3 separate regions of the Homo sapiens genome follow, and regions 2 and 3 are each linked to region 1. Evidence: promoter capture Hi-C in 16 types of primary human blood cells and fetal thymus (Javierre and others, 2016). All regions are on one chromosome and are shown on one strand. The core of a region is centred on a gene start or on the middle of the fragment in contact, and the rest is flanking DNA. Distances in the headings are between cores, read along the strand shown.

What was found. Contacts are between HindIII fragments. The CHiCAGO score rates a contact against its expected background, and 5 or more counts as called.
Region 2: a contact is called between a fragment that was not itself captured here and the fragment with the promoter of LINC01996 in region 1, in 2 of 17 cell types (M0 macrophages and M2 macrophages). The highest score is 7.0, in M0 macrophages.
Region 3: a contact is called between a fragment that was not itself captured here and the fragment with the promoter of LINC01996 in region 1, in 2 of 17 cell types (M0 macrophages and M1 macrophages). The highest score is 6.7, in M0 macrophages.

Annotation. Positions count from the first base shown.
Region 1 is chr17:4,608,777-4,611,781 of GRCh38, reverse strand. LINC01996 (long intergenic non-protein coding RNA 1996) reads right to left here and starts at 1,333. Exons shown (of 2, transcript NR_145431.1): 1 at 949-1,333. The HindIII fragment of the contact is 12,447 bases long and covers 1-1,493 here.
Region 2 is chr17:4,575,876-4,578,575 of GRCh38, reverse strand. No RefSeq gene overlaps it. Among named protein-coding and RNA genes, the nearest start is that of SMTNL2, 7.3 kb to the left of the region's middle. The HindIII fragment of the contact is 9,660 bases long and covers 1-2,700 here.
Region 3 is chr17:4,558,758-4,561,457 of GRCh38, reverse strand. GGT6 (gamma-glutamyltransferase 6) reads left to right here and starts at 881. Exons shown (of 4, transcript NM_001288702.2): 1 at 881-1,076; 2 at 1,698-1,900; 3 at 2,002-2,115; 4 at 2,401-2,700. The coding sequence starts at 937. The HindIII fragment of the contact is 825 bases long and covers 995-1,819 here.

The DNA of each region.
Region 1 (3,005 bases), core at 84-2,583:
TTTCACCGTACTAGCCAGGATGGTCTCGATCCCCTGACCTCGTGATTCGTCTGCCTCGGCCTCCCAAAGTGCTGGGATTACAGGCGTGAGCCACCGCGCCCGGCCAGAAATACAATTTTTTGAGACAGAGTTTCACTCTTGTTGCCCAGGCTGGAGTGCAATGGCTCAATCTCGGCTCACTGCAACCTCAACCAAATTGAGGTAAAACACTCAATTTGGACATCCACAGACTCCCCAAAGTCCTGGGCTATGAACCCTAATGTAGAAGAAGGAGCATAGAGCTTAGGTCACAGCACATAGGAGCAACAAGCCGAGGAGAGGAGGCTCTAATGAACAGAGGAGGGAAAGCAACAGCCAGAGAGGAGGGCAAGCCAGGAAGAGCCTCGGCAGCACAAATGCCACTCAGTCTGCAAACCAGATAAGGACGCTTGCACTGGGAGTGATTAAAACTCAGATCCCCGGCCGGGCGCAGTGGCTCATGCCTGTAATCCCAGCACTTTGGGAGGCCAAGGCAGGCGGATCACTTGAGGTCAGGAGTTCGAGACCAGCCTGACCAACATGGTGAAACCCCGTCTGTACTAAAAATACAAAAATTAGCCTGGCATGGTGGCGGGCGCCTGTACATCCAGCTACACAGGAGGCTGAGGCACGAGAATCGCTTGAACCTGGGAGGTGGAGGTTGCAGTGAGCCAAGATTGTGCCACTGCACTCCAGCCTGGGTGACAGAGTGAGACTCCGTCTCAAAAAAAACAAAAACAAACAAAAAATCAGAACCCTAAAGATCGATTTTATATCCACCTACGTGACAGTAAGAAAGCTGGATCAACTTCAGGAATGAAGGTGGACAGTCAAGACCTACGGTAACACTGTCTGGTGTCTCTCTGGTGCCACCACCCACATCACCTGCCTCTGGTTCAGGGCCCCTTCCCAGCTTGTCATCCCACCTACCTGGACCTTGTCCCTCCAGTGAAGGCTGCCCGGATGCCTCAGAGAGCACAGCCTTCTTAGCTTCATTCTTCCGGAGTGCTTTTCCTTATTTGGTGCTTTCTAGGGAGTAGGCAGGTCAGGTCTTAGGGATTTTTCTTTCTTTCTTTCTTTCTTTTTTGAGACAGGGTCTCACTCTATCTCCAGGCAGTGGCACAACCATCGCTCACTGATGCCTTGACCTCCCAGGCTCAAGCCATCCTCCCGCCTTGGCCTTCCAAGTAATGGGGACTACAAGCATGTGTCACTACACCTGGCTAATTTTAAAACTTTCTGTAGAGACAGAGTCTCACTCTGTTGCCCAGGCTGGTCTCAAACTCCAGAGCTCAAATATTTGTCCTGTCTCGGCCTCCCAAAGTGCTAGGACTACAGGCATGAGCCACCGCGCCCAGCCTAGGAATTTTTAAGGTGTTCTTTCAAAAGACTATGAGGGCTGTTTGGTATCAAAGCAAGTCCAAGAACCAAGAGATAAGAGATCAAAAGCTCTAAAAGCAAACCCAATCCAAGCTTTAAAAGTGAGAGAGATAAGATGGCTCAGAAATAATCATACTGGGTCCATTTATCAGGTGGTTGGGAGAGCACAGCTAACAGAGGGAGAAAAAATAAATCAAGTGGGCCACGTCCACAGGCGTAATCAACTCATCAGAATGAGTTGGTCACCTGTCACCAGCTAGAAAAACCCAAGCCAGAGTTGGTTCTGCTGGACTGGTAAGATGTCCCACCCCAAACTGACCAACTGAATCAGCATTTCTAGTCTTCTGTGCAATTGCCTGCAGTCGTATAGACCCGGTCATGATGGCAGAGAATAAAATCTTCTCTCACACCGGTCTCCAGTTACAGAGTTCTGATCACTGCAACCGGGAAAGCTGAGAACTCTTCATCATCTAGCACATTTGCGAAATTCATTGGCTTTAACAAACTGTTCCCCAAACACCTGGCCTGTGCGGTCTCCTCTCACCAGCATGTGCTCTGTCATATTCAGAAAGTGCTTATAGGCTCTCGCTTGCCTTGAAAAATATCCATCAGCTATCAGAAAAGCTAAAACCCATCGTGGCTCTGGTGAAACGTTCACTTCAGGGAAACACACAAGCCAATTTGGTCCGACTTAATAAGTTTAACAAAATCCAGGTGAAGGAATCTATCTGGAAAAACAGAAGACTCTTATGAGCAGCTCCAAGAAATAATTCTCTCGGGAAAGGGGAAAAAAGATGTGAATTCCTCCATACCAGGGTAGAAAGCAAGATGAAATTGGGTCTCACAAATGGGGAACATTCACGTAACCCCGACCTAAAACGGTGGTTTCCAAATATCTTAGGATTGTGAGACCTTCCTGGATTTTCTTCTCATGCTTTGTCTTAGAGGTAAAATCATGTTTGAAACTCACAAACTGTCTTATGATCTCTCACCCCCCACCCCCAACAAAGACCACAGACAAGAACATCATGGAACCAACTTTAAAAACTCGAGTCTGTCTCATTCTGAATGTGAGACATGAGGGACACCATTCCTAAAGTTTAAAAGAAATTGTTCTGCATTCTGGCAGGATCTGCTCTGTTTCATGCGCAGAGCGTACGGCCATGTCTGCAACTCGGGAGAGCTCCATTTAACGTGTGCGAGGACTCAGTAACATATAGCCATGCTTTTTACAGAGCCCTTGTGTTCCCAGATTGGCTTCAGGTTTGAAACCCTAACCTTCAGTTATGTGTCCTGTTAATAATAGGTCTCACCTCCCCAAGCGTACAAGAGACGAGAGAGCTAGCAAGGGAATGGTTTCCAGAGTGGGAGAATCCGAGAGAGAGGGCAAGACTGCAGCCTGGACCAACCAATCCATGGAGAATACTGCTCACCCACCTGCAGGCTCTGCCATGTTCCTCCTGACACCCCCAGGGATCTCCTGCCCACCCCCCAATATACCACCCAAGGGACACGTGGGACCCCACAAAGGCACACAGGCACTGGTGTTGAGAGCCGGCTGCATGAGGTGAAGACACAGATCCGCTCCTTAAAGGGAAGGTTTAGAA
Region 2 (2,700 bases), core at 6-2,505, 33 kb after region 1:
AAGTGAGGAGACCCTCTGCCCGGCAGCCACCCCGTATGAGAGGTGAGGAGCCCCTCCGCCCCGCAGCCACCCCATCCGGGAGGTGGGGAGCGTCTCCGCCCGGCAGCCACCCTGTCCGGGAGGGAGGTGAGGGGGTCAGCCCCCCGCCCGGCCAGCTGCCCCGTCCGGGAGGTGAGGGGCGCCTCTGCCTGGCCGCCCCTACTGGGAAGTGAGGAGCCCCTCTGCCCGGCCACCACCCCGTCTGGGAGGTGTACCCAACAGCTCATTGAGAACGGGCCAGGATGACAATGGCAGTTTTGTGGAATAGAAAAGGGGGAAAAGTGGGGAAAAGATTGAGAAATCGGTTGGTTGCCGTGTCTGTGTAGAAAGAAGTAGATATGGGAGACTTCATTTTGTTCTGTACTAAGAAAAATTCTTCTGCCTTGGGATCCTGTTGATCTGTGACCTTACCCCCAACCCTGTGCTCTCTGAAACATGTGCTGTGTCCACTCAGGGTTAAATGGATTAAGGGCGGTGCAAGATGTGCTTTGTTAAACAGGAAAAAAAAAAAAAAAAAGAAAGAAGAAAATCCATCTCTACTAAAAATGCAAAAAATTAGCTGGGCGTGGTGGCATGCGCCTGTAATCCCAGCTACTTGGGAGGCTGAGGCACGAGAATCGTTTGAACTGGGGAAGTGGAGGTTGCAGTGCACTCCAGCCTGGATGACAGATCCAGACTCCATCTAAAAAAAAAAATCAGGATGGCTGTGATGTGGGGAAAGAAGAGAGTGAGCAGAGTTTCTTGCCCTCCTGCACCAACCTCTTGACCCCACTAAGGAAGAATTTCCCACAGGCCTCTGCGGAGGCCCAGGCTACCCGTTGAACAAACACCACCTATTCCTGCACAGAGGGGCTGCTGTCCTCCCCCAAGAGGCGGGGGCTGCGCAGGGTGTGGGGTGGAGACAGCTGCTTCCAGCCCAGATAAGGCTGTTGGGCTCAGATTTTCCATTTCCAGGATCCTCCCCCTTGGGTCCCAGCCCCTAAGCCCTGGCCCCATGGCCTGGAGAGGGCTCTACACTGACCCACTCAGCTCCCACCCTGAAAACTGCAAAGCCAGGAGGGGAGACTGAGTCCAGGAAGAACAGGCACATGTTTAAGGTCTTCAGGCAAAGCAGGGACAAGTTTGTCCTGGGCCACTGGGAATTGAAGAGGGGGTCTCTGGGGGCAGGCCAGGCCCAGCCTGGGTGGCCCTCAGAGCTCATATCCGGACTCTTGGACCTCCGGAAACCCACCCAGAGATGGGAGGAAGGAGGACTGGCCGCTCCTCTTACAACAACAGTCCCTGCACGCACTCTCCCTGTGGAGCTTGACTGCTCCAGCCCAGAGGATCTCCAACCGTGGGCCCTGTCCCCTTCTTCCCTCACCCCCTCCACAGCTTCCCACCAAAAGACCTGGTGCCTTCAGCCTGGCCTGGGCCTGCCTCCCTTCCCCCTTCTCAGAGACGGGGCCGGGGGAGGGGTTATTCATAGGCCCCGGCTCAGCAGCCTTCAGGACAAGAGGAGCCCGAGCTCCGGGGCTCTGCCCCCTGGGCCTTCCCCAGGGGCCTCACAGGCAGTGTCTGCTTTCAGCCCAGCAAAAGGCTGCGTCAGTCAGAGTGGGCAGTGGGGGTGGGGAGGCCAGGCCAAGGCAGGGGCTGGGCTGAGCCCTGGGCCTGGAGCCCACTGGAGCCGCTGCAGCCCATAGATCAGCGGGGCTTCCTCAAAAGTACCGTGGAGACTAACTGGGGCTGGGGCTGGCGGGGGAGGTCTCGGAGGCACCAGCCCCTCCTCGGCAAGGCCCGGAGGTGCCATCAAGCTGCCGCTTCCCCTATAGCCCCCAGCTGTGTCTTGATTTGACAACCTGTCCCAGCTAGGACCCCTACCCCTGACTCATGGGTCCCCTCGCCAACAGGGGAACGCCTGAGGGGGCCATTCAAGGCCCTTCCTAACCAGCCCCCCACCCACCTCTCCAACCCCCCTTTCTCAGCCGCTGCCGCCCACAAACACACAAACACAAAACTCTTTCGTGCTTCTGTGATTGTGCCTGGCCTTCTACTTCTCAAACGGACACATCCCTGCTCATCCTCCAGATCGGGGTCCAGCTTAACCACCCCCTTCTCCGGGAAGCCCTCCCTGATAAAGCCTGTCCTTACCTCCTTACCTCCACTAACCCTGCACGGTGCCCACTAGGACACATCCCTCCTCGCACTCCCCATCTTCCTCCTCCAAAGCAGGGCTTGTGTTTCTCAAGCAGTGGTCTCTGTTTAGGGTGTGTCTGTGTGGGCCACCTGCCCCCCTATCAGGTGAGGGGCTCTCTAAAGGGCAGGACCCTGTCTCCTTGTCCCTCTGTCCCCATCACTCACCCCCACTCCATCAGCCAATACTTGATGAATGAGTGAATTGCTGAATAAACAATGGATGATGAAGAGGAGAAGGGAGGGAAGGGAAGCAGGAAAGACCCCCTCTGTGTCTCCTGAGCCCAGGGTAACCGCTTGGTGTCCCAGTGGGCGGGAAAGTGGCAGGGGCAGCTCAGGCCAGGTCTCGGTGACACGGCTCGGCCCTGTGCAGCAGCCAGATCGGTCACCCTCATTCTTTCCAGATCAAAGTTCCCCCGGGGAACAGCCTGGAACCTGACACTGGCACCGGGAGGGTGGAGCCAACTGGCCCATGCAGGAGGAGGGCAC
Region 3 (2,700 bases), core at 158-2,657, 50 kb after region 1:
TACCTCCTCCAGTCACTATCTGACTTCTAAGGGCAGACTGTTGTTGCTCTTTTGTTGTTGCCTGTTTGTGTACTTTGTGTAAATGAAAGCATATAGCGTGCGCTGTCTCCTGCCTGGCTGCTTTCCCTCGTCCTTATGCTTGTCAGACCTGTGTATATTATTGCATATAATTGTAGATCACTCACTCTCTTTGCTGCAGAGTGGTCCATTGTGACTTACATCATTCATTCTAACGATAATGGATGTTTGGGCACTTTCCAATTTGGGACTGTTACAAACAGCACTGTTTTGCAACAAGTCCTTGATGGGAATCCCAGAATGAATTTAGAAATGTTGGTTTCCAGGCTGTGGCGCTACCTTCTGGACAAGAGTCGCAAAACACGCACAGGGAGTTACGAACCAAGTTGCTCCTCAAAGAAACCCAGACCCAGAGTAGCCACAGGCTGAGCCTTGACCCCGGCCAGAGACCAGACACCCCTACGCCAGAACCTAGTCACGTGCAGACTCAAGCACGTGGGAGCTCTGACCCAAGCCACCGTGAAACCGTAGCTCTAATTCAAGTCCACAGTCCCTAGAGTCCCAGGTGGGTGGGATCCATGGGCTACATCCCCCAAGGGGAGGAGCCCAGCAGGTGCCCTGAGTATCAAGGTTGTGGCATTAAGGCTGAACTCCTTCTCGACCTCACTGAGCTGTGGCCCCTTACAGGCAGTCACCCCGGGAACCCTGTCGCGAGAGCTCCTCGGGCCTTGTGTCCTAATGGGGCAGGCTCACATGCAGCCTCCTTGGCCCCGTGCCCTGCCCAGACCTGTTCTGGATTCCACCCCCACCCTTCCCCAAGGTCGCTGCCACCTCCCACCTGCCAGGCTTGGGCAGGGCCTCTGAGACACAGCCGGAAAGGCTGGCAGGCAGGAGGGCTGGGGCGAGCACTGGGGGGCCATGGAGCGGGCAGAAGAGCCCGTGGTCTATCAGAAGCTGCTGCCCTGGGAGCCAAGCTTGGAGTCGGAGGAGGAAGTGGAGGAGGAGGAGACATCAGAGGCGCTGGTTCTAAACCCCCGGAGGCACCAGGACTCTTCCAGGTAAGTAAGGGAGGGGTCTGGGCACCAGGCTCCCCAGGCTTGAGGTTGGCAAGTCCCTCTCTCTGGAGCCCCTCAGGGGGACCAGGCGACTCCCCGCTGGGTTTAGCTCCAGGCACTGTACGGTCAATTTGGGGGAAAACCCAGGCTGTAGCCCGAGACTTGGCCTGACCCAATCAAAAGTCTGTGCATCTGGAGGGACATTTGTACCAAGCCAGCCTCTGTCCCATCTGCTGCTTTGTCAAAGGTCCCCAGCCCCCAAGTCCTGGTGCAGGAGGCACCTGCTGGGCAGGTTGGGGCCTGACTACGCCTGGCTGGGCCTGCTCCCCAGCCCCTTCTCTCCTGCCTGCCACACCCCACTGGGCCTCCCTCCCACCTGAGTGGACTCTGCCCCACCAATCTCCCCTCCAGAGGCTCCCTCCCTAGCTAGGCTCAGTTTCCCCAGATGCTTTCCCATCCCCATGTCTGCCCAAGATGCACCCGCTGCCAAGAAGCCCTTTCTCCTTGGCTGACTTGTGCTCCTCTTGCTAAATCAAACCTTTTGGGAAATATTCCCTGGGGTCTCTTGGGGTCCTTGGGCATCCCTCTGTCCCAGCCGTGGCTCAGGACACCCCCCCTCTGCAGGAACAAGGCTGGCGGGCTGCCCGGAACCTGGGCCCGTGTAGTGGCAGCCCTGCTGCTGCTGGCTGTTGGCTGCTCCCTGGCTGTGAGGCAGCTCCAGAATCAGGGCAGGTCGACAGGAAGCTTGGGCTCTGTGGCCCCTCCACCCGGCGGACACTCCCACGGCCCTGGCGTATACCACCACGGTGCCATCATCAGCCCTGCAGGTCAGTCAGTGCTGGGGGCGGCTTGGGGAGGGGAGGGTCAGGGGTCACCAGCCCAGCCTAGCCCCCCTCCTTGCTGCATGACAGTGCCTTCCTTGCTGCAGCCACATGCTCCCACCTAGGCCGAGAGCTGCTTGTTGCCGGGGGCAACGTCGTGGATGCTGGAGTTGGAGCTGCATTGTGCCTGGCAGTGGTGCATCCTCATGCCACGGGGCTAGGTCAGTGACCCCTGACCCCAGACTGCAACCCCAACCCACAGCCTGATCAGTGACCTGGAACTTAGGGAGTCAGTAGCACTGACCTCAAGACTGCTAAGTGAGCAGGACTTAGGGTTTGGGCAGCAGTCCAACCCCAGGCTATGACCCTTGAGCCCGGGTCTGTGGAACTTTGACCTCAGGCCTGGTCAGTAACTCCTGATCCCAGGCTCAGTCAAGGGATCTTGACTGAAACAAGTCAGTGACCCTTGACCTGCGGCTGCTGAGGGACCCCTCTGTCTCCTGCAGGTGCCATGTTTTGGGGCCTCTTCCACGATAGCTCCTCAGGCAATTCCACGGCCCTGACATCAGGCCCAGCACAGACCCTGGCCCCCGGCCTGGGGCTGCCCGCGGCTCTGCCCACCCTGCACCTGCTGCATGCACGCTTCGGCCGCCTGCCCTGGCCACGCCTGCTAGTGGGCCCCACCACGCTGGCTCAGGAGGGCTTCCTGGTGGACACACCCCTGGCAAGGGCTCTGGTGGCTCGGGGCACAGAAGGCCTCTGTCCACTACTTTGCCATGCTGATGGGACACCCCTGGGCGCTGGGG